Linked DNA regions of Homo sapiens: all the other regions are linked to region 3. The links are contacts of gene promoters, found by promoter capture Hi-C in blood cells and fetal thymus (Javierre and others, 2016). All regions are on one chromosome and are shown on one strand. Each heading gives the region's core, a stretch centred on a gene start or on the middle of the fragment in contact. The rest is flanking DNA. Distances are from core to core; before and after follow the strand shown. Region 1 has its middle 25 kb from the start of RPL39. Region 2 overlaps UPF3B (UPF3B regulator of nonsense mediated mRNA decay). Region 3 holds the start of NKRF (NFKB repressing factor).

The links. Contacts are between HindIII fragments. The CHiCAGO score rates a contact against its expected background, and 5 or more counts as called.
Region 1: a fragment that was not itself captured here is called in contact with the fragment with the promoter of NKRF in region 3 in 1 of 17 cell types (fetal thymus); the score reaches 5.1 in fetal thymus.
Region 2: a fragment that was not itself captured here is called in contact with the fragment with the promoter of NKRF in region 3 in 1 of 17 cell types (neutrophils); the score reaches 5.5 in neutrophils.

The regions. Positions count from the first base shown.
Region 1 is chrX:119,814,805-119,818,671 of GRCh38, reverse strand. It overlaps a transcript of UPF3B not described here. Among named protein-coding and RNA genes, the nearest start is that of RPL39, 25 kb to the right of the region's middle. The HindIII fragment of the contact is 984 bases long and covers 864-1,847 here.
Region 2 is chrX:119,835,644-119,840,070 of GRCh38, reverse strand. It overlaps UPF3B (UPF3B regulator of nonsense mediated mRNA decay), which reads left to right. Exons shown (of 11, transcript NM_080632.3): 9 at 1,544-1,704; 10 at 2,020-2,314. Among named protein-coding and RNA genes, the nearest start is that of UPF3B, 15 kb to the left of the region's middle. The HindIII fragment of the contact is 5,356 bases long and covers 1-4,427 here.
Region 3 is chrX:119,603,307-119,607,786 of GRCh38, reverse strand. NKRF (NFKB repressing factor) reads left to right here and starts at 1,363. Exons shown (of 4, transcript NR_163972.1): 1 at 1,363-2,056; 2 at 4,228-4,325. RefSeq lists an enhancer at 1,130-1,239 and a silencer at 1,780-1,829. The HindIII fragment of the contact is 11,769 bases long and covers 1-4,480 here.

The DNA of each region.
Region 1 (3,867 bases), core at 106-2,605, 210 kb before region 3:
GGAAAGTTTGCTCAACTTTTAATTTTTCAGTCAGAATTGTGTAAGCTGAACCAATTGTGATGTCTATGGTGATGGCTGTTGTTTCTGCCATTAATAGTTGGTCTTAGTCTCTCACGAAGGCTGGAGGCCAGTGGCACAATCTTGGCTCACTGCAACCTCTGCCTCCCGGGTTCAATGATTCTCCTGCCTCAGCCTCCCAAGTAGTTGGAATTACAGACACCTGCCACCGCACCCAGTTAATTTTTGTATTTTTATTAGAGACAGGGTTTCACCACGTGGGCCAGGTTGGTCAGATGACCCGCCCGCCTTGGCCTCCCAGAGTGCTGGAATTACAGGGGTGAGCCACCACACCCAGCCGATGCTTTTCAGTTAAAGCACGAAGAGGATTTTTGTTGTTGTTGTTTTTTAAGACGGAGTCTCATTCTGTTGCCCAGGTTGGAGTGCAGTGGCATGATCTCAGCTCACCACAACCTCCGCCTCCTGGGTTCAAGCGATTCTCCTGCCTCGGCCTCCTGAGTAGCTGGGACCACAGGCTCATGCCACCATACCCAACTAATTTTTGTATTTTTAGTAGAGACGGGGTTTCACTATGTTGGCCAGGCTGGTCTTGAACCCCTGACCTTGTGATCCACCCGCCTCGGCCTCCCAAAGTGCTGGGATTACAGGTGTGAGCCACTGCGCCTGGCCTAATTTTTTCCCTTGCATATTGATGTGGATGACCTGCTGCTGCAGGCTTCATCTTCAACATCATTTTGTCCTTTCTTACAAGTTATCCATTTGTAAACTGCTGATCTCTTTAGGGGCATTGTCCCCATAAACTTTTGGTAAAGCATCAGTGATTTTACCGTTCTTCCACCCAAGCTTCATCTTAAATTTTATGTTTGTTCTTCCTTCAATTTTAGCAGAATCCATTTTTCGCTGATAGGAGCTCTTTTCACACTGATGCTTTCTCCTTTTTAATGCCTCAAACTAGATCCTGTCGAGATATTTTTTAACGAGTTAGTACCAGTTTATTTTGATGCCAAAAGATTTTGCAATCCATGCATAGTTTCTTGATAATACACATTTTCCATGGACTTTTTGAAGACTTCTCATATGACTGTTGATATGATTGAGCTCTGTTCCCGCACCCAAATCTCATCTTAAACTGTAATCCTCATGTGTCAAGGGAGGAGCTTGGTAGGAGGTGATTGGATTATTGGGGCAGTCTCACACATGCTGATCTTGTGATAGTGAGTAAGCCTCACAAGATCTGATGGTTTTAAACAAGGCAGTTTTTCCTATGCTCGCACTTCACCTCTAGTCTGCTGCCATGTAGCATGTGTCCACTTCCCCTTCTGCCATGATTGTAAGTTTCCTGAGGCTCCCCCAGCCATGTGGAACTGTGAGTCAATTAAACCTCTTCGGCTGGGCTTGGTGGCTCACCCCTGTAATCCCAGCTTTGGGATACCAAGGCCGGTGGATCACCTGAGGTCAGGAGTTCCAGACCAGCCAGGCAAACATGGCGAAACCCATCTCTACTAAAAATACAAAAATTAGCTGGGTGTGCTTATGCCCGCCTGTAATTCTAGCTACTCAGGAGGCTGAGGCAGGAGAAGCGCCTAAACCTGAAGGGCAGAAGTGTGGTCAGCCGAGATCGCACCATTGCACTCCAGCCTGGGCGACAAGAGCGAGACTACGTCACATATTTTATTTATTTTATAAATAAATAAAAATAAAATAAAATAATTAAACCTCTTCTCTTTATATATTACCCAGCCTTGGGTATTTTTTCTACTAGTGTGAAAACCAATTAATATAGCTGTGAAAGAAATGGAGATACATAGGTTAATGGTGTTAATGAAGCTTTATTTTAAATATGAGAAAGTAAGTAAGTTTAGAAGCCAAAAGGTAAGCTCTACAAGGATGAATACTCAAGAGAAAGAGACAACGAATACTGTAGGCTTCCTGCAAAGGCAGGTGAAAATGGAAGCCAAGGTAGAGGTTAGAGGAGTTGGCCTTAGGAGAAGCAACACTCCTGAACCCCCAGGCATGAGTTGACATCCTTGCCTCTTTGTCTAGCCTGTTTTCATGTCAGCACCTCCCTCTTCTGTTCTACTTGCCTGGCCTGTCCAGCTCTGGATAAATCACCCATCCCCACCCCACCCTCTTCAATTTCTTCCATTTGCTCATTCATTTAGCAAACATGTACCAATCACTGACTGTGTGCCAGGCCCTGGGGTCAGGGATTCAAATAAGTCCTTGTGCACGTGGAACTCATGTTTCAGTGTTGGCAAGAGGCAAATAGCAATAATCAGATCATGATGCACAATGTCAGAAGGGTCGCGGTAGCACAGGGTGTTGTGGGAGCCTCTTGCCCCTAAGCTGCAAGTGTCGCTGGAGAAAATCCCTCAAGCAGATCAATTGGTGAAACCACAGGAGAGCCTTCACTCCTGCTAAGCAATTTTTACCATCAGTCTTGAATTGATATCCTTTCCCCAGTGCCACCTTTCTTCTACTTTGCTCCCTTGCTCTCCTTTCTTGTGTTGCAGGCAAGGGGGGTGAGGACCACTTCCTCATAAAGCATAATTTCATGTCCTTAATAACTATAGGCCAGGCATGGTGGCTCATGCCTGTAATCCCAGCACTTTGGGAGGCCGAGGCAGGTGGATCACTTGAGGTCAGCAGTTGGAGATGAACCTGGCCTACGTGGTGAAACCCCGTCTCTACTAAAAATACAAAAATTAGCCGGGCTTGGTGGTGTGCACCTGTAGTCCCAGCTACTCAGCAGACTAAGGCAGGAGAATCGCTTGAACCCGGGAGGCAGAGGTTACAGTGAGCCGAGATTGCACTACTGCACTCCAACCTGGACAACCAGAGCGAAACTTCGTCTATGCAGGCAATCCTAGCATTTGGGAGGCCAAGGTGGCAGAATCATTTAACTTCAGGAGTTCAAAGCCAGCCCGGATAACATAGGGAGACCCCATCTCTATTAAAAATTTTAAAACTTAGCCCAGTGTGGTAGAGCGTGCCTGCAATTCCAGCTACTAGGAAGCTGAGGTGGGAGGATGGCTGGAGTCTGGAATGTCAAGGCTGTTGTGAGCTGCAATCTTGCCATTTGCACTTCAGCCTGAGTGACAAAATGAGACCATGTCTCTAAGAAAAATAAGTTGTACCAGGCTTATAAAATAATAATTAGGAAATGGTTGCTTTTCTTTGGAAATGGAGAGAGGAAGTGGGCAAGTTGTCATTTACCATGCCTTCACATTTTTGGTCTTAAATGACTGGACTTTAGTATATATTAATATATAAGTTATGACTTGAAAATCCCACGTAAAAGCTTAGCAGCATTGTTGTAACAGTAACATATTTCATTGTACTTCAGAATCATCCAGGGATGCAGCGTTACCATCCAGGAGCTCGAAGCCAAGGTCGACTCTCGCACCCTGATGACATAACCAAGTCTGGAGATTCAGCAGTAGAAAGAAAGCAGGAAAGTTGTATTAGCCATACAAAAGAAGAGGAGAGGCTGGGTGTGATGGTTCACGCCTGTAATCCCAGCACCTTGGGAGGCCGAGGCGGGTGGATTACCTGAGGTCAGGAGTTTGAGACCAGCCTGGTCAACATGGTGAAACCCCATCTCTACTGAAAATACAAGAACTAGCCAGGCGTGGTGCCAGGTGCCTGTAGTCCCAGGTACTCGGGAGGCTGAGGCAGGAGAATCGCTTGAACTCAGGAGGCGGAGGTTGCAGTAAGCCGTGATCTTGCCACTGCACTCCAGCCTGGGCAACAGAGTAAGACTCCATCTCAAAAAAAAAAAAAAAAAAAAAAAAGAAAGAAAGAAAAGAGTAGAGGAGTGTGCAGCAGAGGAGTAAGTTTTGCCTCAAA
Region 2 (4,427 bases), core at 1,073-3,572, 230 kb before region 3:
GCAGGGTCTCCTTATTTTATTTCCTGAAAACTCAGCAGTTTATGTAGCAAGGGTTCCCTAAGTCTCTACGGGGCTCATTACTGATGATGAGGGGCTTGGGGGAGGATGGAGTTTCTCATCTTAATTCTTTCCAGCAATCTCTCTGTCTGCTATGCCACAAGTGACTTGACTTGCTATTCCTAACAATCAGCAAGGCAGAAGGTAGAGCCAGCCATGCTAGAGACATTCATTAATGTTCTTATTAGAGTAATGAACACCTTGGTTTCTAATAAGGATGTTCATTGGAGAAATAAGAGCACTTCCAATGAAACCTGCACATGGTATCCTCATTTTACACTGGTGCCTTCTCAGTGTCCATTTTGGACTCACCATTTGCAGTGGCTGTCTGTGTGCCAAAATGCTTTGTGCTTATGTCTTGTGGTGCTTTGCCTTTTGCTTAGTAATTTACATGATGCCTTCACCCTGAGATGAACCTTGTGTGATACCTTCACTCTGAGACTTGAAATTCTTCTATTTTGCCTAAGAATCTCTCTGATTATCCGACACTTGGAGGTATTCTCGAGAGATTCATAGCAGCAATGTAAAAAACAATGGCATTTTTGAACATGCGTAAATATGGCATTAAATACAGAGTTCCTACTCAGTAGAGATGGAACTTCACTATTTGGTTGTATAAGGCCTTTAGATTTTTAAATCAAATGCCAAATAATTCTTGTTATTAATCTCTAATGGCAAGATAATTGTACCATCATAAGTATGTTATTCTCAGGCTCAAGGCAAAATTATTCCTGCAATGGATCTCTCCTTTGGTGACCAAGGTATTTGTCATTCCAAGTACTACATAAAAACAGTCCCAACAGAAACGATCTGCCTATCACTTAAAATTTGTGGGCTGTTTCCCATTAAGTTATATCAACATGCTGGTTTGCTACAGAAGCATACTTTGAAGTATGCATTGGTTCACTTAAAGGTTGACCCATTTAAAGCCAAAGGAAGCCGGGCACAGTGGCTCACACCTGTAATCTCAGCACTGTGGGAGGCCGAGGCAGAAGGATGGTGTGAGCCCAGAAGTTTGAGAACAGCCTGGGTGACATGATGAGACCTTGTCTCTACAAAAAAATTAAAAAATTAGCCATATGTGGTGGTGTGCATCTGTTGTCCTAGCTACTCAAGAGGCTGAGGCAGGAGGACCACTTAAGCCCAGGAGGTCAAGGTTGCGGTGAGCCATGTTCATGCCACTGCACTCCAGCATGGGCAACAGAGTAGTGAGACCCTGCCTCAGAATAAAAGCCAAAGGAGTCTTGATCCTATTGCCACAAAGTGATTAAACCACTTCGTTCAAGTGGATAACACTTTAACATTAATAGCATCCTTTTAGTAAATTACTACTCTTATGCACTAGTTGTTCACCTGAAAGATTAAGTGTACCTGCAGAGATAGGGGGCTTTGTCTAGTCTAAATTTTAAATATTTGGTATACTGGGTTTTTAATAGAAGATAGTGTCCCAGCCTTCAAAATAAAAATAAACATTTTATCTTTAAAGCTGCTCAAGAAGCCAGAAAAAGGAGATGAAAAAGAATTGGACAAAAGAGAAAAAGCCAAGAAATTGGACAAAGAGAATCTCAGTGATGAAAGAGCCAGTGGGCAAAGTTGTACATTGCCCAAGCGTTCTGATAGCGAACTTAAAGATGAAAAACCAAAGAGGTCAGTAGTCAAGGACTCTTTGTTATGTTTGATTTATACATGCTAGTTTTGCTGCTATGTCCTGGACATGTACCTGAATTAAGATAAGCTGTTTTATGCAGGGCAGGGGGATGAGGAGGAACAGTTTCAGAATATTCTTGTATCTTAATCTGGGTGAATGGTTTTGGGGTTTTGTTCCTTCTTAAAACACTAGTATTTTTCACTCTGCTCTAAAAGTGCAACCTCATTGCAGGGGCCAAATCAGAATCACAGTGTTCCTGCATTTGTGATTACAAGATCTTTCAGGGTTCTGTCTCAGATTTGTTTTTCATGCAGACCTGAAGATGAGAGCGGCAGAGACTATAGGGAGAGGGAACGGGAATATGAACGAGATCAGGAGCGCATACTTCGAGAAAGAGAGAGGCTGAAGCGGCAAGAAGAAGAGCGCCGTAGGCAGAAGGAGCGCTATGAGAAAGAGAAGACTTTTAAGAGAAAAGAAGAAGAAATGAAAAAAGAGAAAGACACACTTCGGGATAAAGGAAAGAAGGCTGAAAGTACAGAATCAATAGGCAGCTCAGAAAAAACTGAAAAGAAAGAAGAAGTGGTCAAGAGAGATCGAATAAGAAACAAGGTGCTGCTTGTCATTAAACTTGTTTATGAGGGTTTTTTTCCCTTTTCCTGCAAGTGTAAAGAAAGTGTAAAGGGCACTGTTATTATAGAATTTTTAAAGGGGAACTTTAATCATCTGCAACTTTTTTTTTTTTTTTTTTTTGAGACAGAGTCTGACTATGTTGCCCAGGCTGGAGTGCAGTGGCACAATCTCGGCTCACTGCAAGCTCCGCCTCCTGGGTTCACGCCATTCTTCTGCTTCAGCCTCCCAAGTAGCTGGGACTACAGGCGCCCACCACCACGCCTGACTTATTTTTTTGTATTTTTAGTAGAGACAGGGTTTCACCGTGTTAGCCAGGATGGTCTTGATCTCCTGACCTCGTGATCCACCTGCCTCAGCCTCCCAAAGTGCTGGGATTACAGGCGTGAGCCACCACGCCTGACCAACTTTTATTTCAGTCTTGGCTGGGCTTTTATTAACTTACTATAGAAATTGTAAACATACACAAAAGTAGAATAGAGAATAGTATGATGGGCCAGGTGCAGTGGCTCACACCTGTAATCCTAGCACTTTGGGAGGCTGAGGTGGGTGGATTGCTAGAGCCTAGGAGTTCTAGACCAGCCTGGCCAACATGGTGAAACCCCGTCTCTACTAAAAATACAAAAAATCGGCTGGATGTGGTGGCGCACACCTGTAATCTCAGCTACTCGGGAGGCTGAGGCAGAAGAATCACTTGAACCTGGGAGGTGGAGGTTGAGGTGAGCCGAGATCACGCCATTGTATTCTAGCCTGGGCAACAGAGCGAGACTCAGTCTCAAAAAAAAAACTGGCCGGGCGCGGTGGCTCACGCCTGTAATCCCAGCACTTTGGGAGGCCAAGACGGGTGGATCACGAGGTCAGGAGATCAAGACCATCCTGGCTAACATGGTGAAACCCCATCTCTACTAAAAATACAAAAAATTAGCCAGGCGTGGTGGCGGGCGCCTGTAGTCCCAGCTACTCGGGAGGCTGAGGCAGGAAAATGGCGTGAACCTGGGAGGCGGAGCTTGCAGTGAGCCGAGATCGCGTCACTGCACTCCAGCACGGGCAACAGAGCGAGACTCTGTCTCAAAAAAAAAAAAAAAATCGAATAGTATGATGAACTCCATGTACTGTACCCATCACCCAGCAGTTCATAGCCAACCTTCTTTCTATTCTACTTCATCCCTACCCCTACTAGATTATTTTCAAACAAACCCTGCACATAATTTCTTCCTTAAATACTTCAGTATATGAGATAAATACTCTATTAATATTACCCTAGTAGCATTTTCACACCAAAAAAAACTAACAATAATTCCTTAACGTCCTGTCTATTCAGTGTTCATATGTTCCCAATTGCTTCATTAATGTCTTTTTAAAATTAATTAATTATTTATTTTTTGCGATGGAGTCTCGCTCTGTCATCTAGGCTGGAGTGCAGTGGCATGATCTCAGCTCACCACAACCTCCACCTCCCGGGTTCAAGTGATTCTCCTGCCTCAGCCTCCCGAATAGCTGAGACTACAGCCTCAAGCCACCATGCCCGGCTAATTTTTGTATTTTTAGTAGAGACAGGGTTTCACCATGTTGGCCAGGCTGGTCTCGAACTCCTGACCTCAGGTGATCCTCCCGCCTCAGCCTCCCAAAGTGCTGGGATTACAGGCATGAGCCACCGTGCCCAGCCTAATGTCTTTTTTTTAATAGGACCTAAACAAATTCCACAAATTATGCTTCCTTGAAATGTCTTCTTCAGTTCTCTTTTGTTTTTAGTTTATTTTTTGAGACAGAGTCTTGCTATGTCACCCAGGCTGGAGTGCCGTGGTACAATCTCAGCTCACTGTAGCCTCGACCTCCTGGGCTTAAGCCATCCCCCTACCTCAGCCTCCAGAGTAGCTGGGACTACAGGCATGCATCACCATGCCCAGCTAATTTTTAAGTTTTTTTGTAGAGATGAGGTCTCCCTATGTTGCTCAGGCTGGTCTCAAACTTTTGAGCTCAGCCGATCCCCTCAAAGTATTGGGAATAAAGGTATGAGCCACTGCACCCAGCCAAGTTTTCTTTTAATCTAAACAATTTCCCCTTCTCTTGTTTTCCTACCATTTGTTGCAGAAAC
Region 3 (4,480 bases), core at 114-2,613:
TTCAAGCGATTCTCCTGCCTCAGCCTCCGGAGTAGCTGGGATTACAGGCGCCTGCCACCACGCCCGGCTAATTTTTGTATTTTTAGTGGAGACAGGGGTTTCACCATGTTGGCCAGGCTGGTCTCGAACTCCTGACCTCAAGTAATCCTCCTGCCTCGGCCTCCCAAAGTGCTGGGATTACAGGCGTGAGCCACCGCACCCAGCCTGTTTTATTTTCTTCACAGCATGTATCACCTTGTGAACTTTTTAAAAACATTTCGATTGTTACCCCAATAAACATGAATGCCCACCACGGAGAAAGACAGACGTGGAAATAAATTATGAAAGTGTGTAAAGTGCTGTTATCTTCTGCTCCTCTCAGTCTAATACACCCCTAACATAAAGTGTCATATAATTAGAAATACGTCATTAAAGAGTTAAAGATGGTAGTGTGTTAAAGCCACCTCATCCAATGGTCCGGCTCCTGGTGGAACATTTAGTTTTATGCAGGGCTATTTCTCCCCACCAAGATTGTAGTCAATTCCAGGACAACAGAGAAAACCCACTTTCTTTCCTTCTTTTTTGTACTCTTGCTGTATTGAGCACACAGTAGGTGCTGTGTAAATTCCCGCCGACAGACACTCATTGATTAACTGCTTTCGTGACACAGGTTGGCAGATAGGGACTGAAGTTATTGAGTGAAGCTGACTCCGGGTGGAGTGATACATTTGGCTACAGTGATTGAGCGGCTCTACCTTGCAGTACCCTCTTCTGTGGGCCCCTTTTGTATCTTGTAATCTTTTGCACTTAAGTTGATACGTGAAATACAGACTTGCAATCGTGATCAGAACTGTGTAAACAGTATCTGTGTTCGTAATTGGGATACAGTATGGACTTGAAACTGGCTAACTTGAGAAGCGGCGCTGTGGATGATTTTCTTGGCAAGTGTTTCATTTTTACTACGTTTCCGCAGTAAGCTATTACACAAAGCTAATGATGCACGATGCACAGAGCATTTCAAGCTACTCTCTGAAGAAAAGGCACCTCGGGGAGCTGACTGTTTTGTTTTGTTTTAATGTAAAGTCCAGTGCAGACCTAAATCCCTTACAAGGAACATGGTCTCACTGTCGCGCCGCTTAAAAATCCAGGGAAAAGCGTCAGACGAGCCGTGGGCTACCAACATTCATCTGAGGGCACCTTCTAACCATATTCTCGAACCTCAGAGAACCTTCCTAAATTCCCTTTCTGGAGTCCCCGCCCTCCGCTTGTCACCGTAGTGCGTCAAAGGCCCGTAGTCGTCACTGGAGGGAAAAAAGTACGTCGCGCGAGATTCTGCGACGGGATTTGGAAGTTAGGGAACAGCCGCGGCGCAAGCGCACTGGCCTCACAACCCCGGACGGCACGCGGGTAGGTAGGCTAGAACCTAGAGGAGGGGAGCAGAGCGTGCTGGGGTCTTTTATCGCTCTCCGCGCAGTGCGTGGGTCTGCGGATCCGTGGAGGTGCGGAGCCTGACTCGGCCTCCCCGGCTCGCGCGTGAGTGCGGCGGAAGCCCTTCTGCTCCTCCACGAGTTAGAGGAGTGTAGGGGACGTGCATCCCAGTGTCGGGACGCGAGCTCGTGCTCCTCTTTTCCTCCTAACGGTGGCCCCCACGCACACACTCCAGTCCCCCCGAGAGTTGATCTTCTCCCCTCAGCGCGCCCCTCCTTACCCGGCCCCTCCCACCGGCCCCCCGTTTCCGCCCGCTTGCTAGCTGCCTAGCTCGCGGTCCGTAGTCGGCTTCGTCCCTGGGGTCCCTGCTTGGGGGCGGAGAAGATGGCTGGAGGACGTCTGCTGTTGGGGGGCGACTTCCTGTCGCGCCGCCGCTGCCCCCCCTCCCGCCGCCGCCGCTGCCGCCCCTCCCGCCGCCCCCGCCCGAGCCAGTGCTGGAGCAGTGGCGCTATAGCCACGAAAGTGACTGGCAGTGGGCTCTGCGGCGCAGCTTCATCTGTCGGCACCTGCACAGCTATCCCGGGGCTGCCCTCGACCAGCTCCTCGCGCTCTCCGCCGCCTGGACCAACCACGTCTTCCTGGGCTGCAGGTGAGGAAGGTGTGGGTGTCGGGTTAGGGACGGGGGTGAGAGATCGGTGATGGGGGATCGGGTTAGGGACGGCGCTGGAGGGATCGATGATGGTGGTTGGGATAGGGACGGGGGCGGGATGCGGAGGATAGGTTGGAGGCTGGAGATTTGGAGGTGCTGGAGGGCACTAGAGGGATCACTATTGGCCTGGGGGTGGGGTGGCCGACTGTGGTGGCTGGGCATGACATAACAGCTAGGAGGGTGCAGAGATCGCGGAAGCGGCCTCTCCAGGACCAGGGATGGAGATGAAGCAGCGCCTAGAAGAGGATTATTGAGAGGTGGTCATTGTAGTTGGTGGCGGTATTAGAGGACGTGGGGAATGATGAATAGCAGCATCTCGGACCTGCGTAGGGCCTTCCAAGGATGCAGTATCCGCAGAGAATATATTCGACAGTTGGAGTTGTGGGGGAAGGGCGAGGGGACCCCACTGTTCTAGTCTCCTCCTGACCACTCTCTTTTTCCATTCCTCTTAAATACCCCCCTCTACTTGCAGCCCCCTAGCAGGGTCTTACTGTCTTCTCCTGGGGAGGCGGTACGTATCAGCTCTCTGAGCCGCAGCAGCGTCAGCCTTGCTTGTAGATTTGCGCATAATGTGTCTGGACTCAAACAAAGAAATGGATATATCTACTGTAAAAATGGATTGCCCTCTTTTTACCCTAAATGGGATCAGAAGGATTAACATTTGGCTCTGAGTGAGGTTTTAGGTGTGTGTGTCTGTGGTGGGGGTGGGGGTGTGTGTGTGTTTGTTTTTCCCCCCTTTCCTAGAACCTGGTGACGTTTTGAACAGGCCTCTTTGAAAGCTCTTTGCATTCAATGGAGACTGCAGTATGGTTCCAACGCAGCGTGTTTTGTTTGTTTTTTTTTTTTGAAGAGGCTACTTGGACCTCTGTCCTTCAGAACCCCTAAATCGGCCCTATACTAGACTATTCATTCTTTGATAGATTGGGAGACGACTTCTTTTGACATTCCTGCAATCATAGTTTTTTGTTTTTGTTTTTGTTTTTGTTTTTTTTTAAATCAGGAAGGGTGAGAGATTCTGGAATATGATCATGTCAATTTTGGCCAGTTCAGTTCCAGGAGTGACTGTAACAGATGCAGAAAAATAGGATTGTCTCCTCCTGCCCTTAATTATTGAACATGGCATTCAGTGTGATATACTTTGCTCTCATCACAGACATTACTTTTCTGTCTTCTCAAGGTTAGCATAATTTCTACCTCCAGAGATAATGATTAGGAGGAACTGGTTACAACTGAAGAAGCCTTAGTTATTGAACAAGTCAGATAAATCTACTTGACCTTTGCCTAACAGTGTTGTTCTTGAGTTCAAAAGTTACCTTTATCCTATAATCGTAAGTCTCCATAATATCACAGAAGGCTGTCGGAAATCTGAATCCTTAAAATAAAAACAAAAACTTAAATGAGGATAACTATCCTTTGTGTTAATAATAAATCTTACCTTCCCACTAGAATGGAAGCTCCCTTAAGGATAGGGATTTTGCTTTCTTGTTTACACCTTTATCCTCAGTGCCTAGAAGATTGCCTGCTAAATAATAGCTGCTCAATAAATGTGTGTGGAGTGAGTGGATGTATACAGCTTTATGATGTACAACACATTTTAAATATTTATTATTTCATTTCCTACAACAACTTTGGGGATTAGGTGGCATCTCATTTTTACTGCTAAATCAGTGGAGGCCAAGAAGTTAAGTGACGTTTCCAAGGTCTTACAGCTGGGGCTAGGACCTAGGTCTTCTGATACCCAGACTGATGCTCTTTCCACTGAGCCACAGCTGCCATATTTGGGAAGGATGGATCATGAGTGAAAGCAAGTAACTGAACATAAGCCACATCATTATATCTCAGGATTTAATTCCAAGAACAACACCCTTGTACATAACCAGGGCATTAAAAACACAAAGTAGGCCAATGGTAGTTGGTGTTAAAGGCTCAAGAATTGCAGGCTGTTGTGTGTGCACACAGGTGCATCTGTGGATACTATGTATGCTACATTGTACATACTATGTATGTACACCATGTTACATTGTAGCTAAGTCAGTTTAGTTAATACAAGAATTGCCATTACATTATCAAATAGCTTAACTGAAAAGTAATGTTTGCATTATATCTGATAGCTTCCATATAGAAGAAAGGGAAGGGCCAATGAAGACTCTTGGAAGCTAGGGACCAAGTGCAGTCTTTAGATGGGCTTTATGTTACCTCTCATCTTCAGGTGGGTAAAACTTGTGTTCCAATACTTGTTGATGTTAATGTAGATTTTGGCAGAGTTCTTGTTTTCTGTGGCAGAATACTCTTCTCTCAAGTGAATTGTAGAATACATGGTGAAATAGCTCTTTCTAAACTTAAATTGTTAATTTTTTTTTTTTT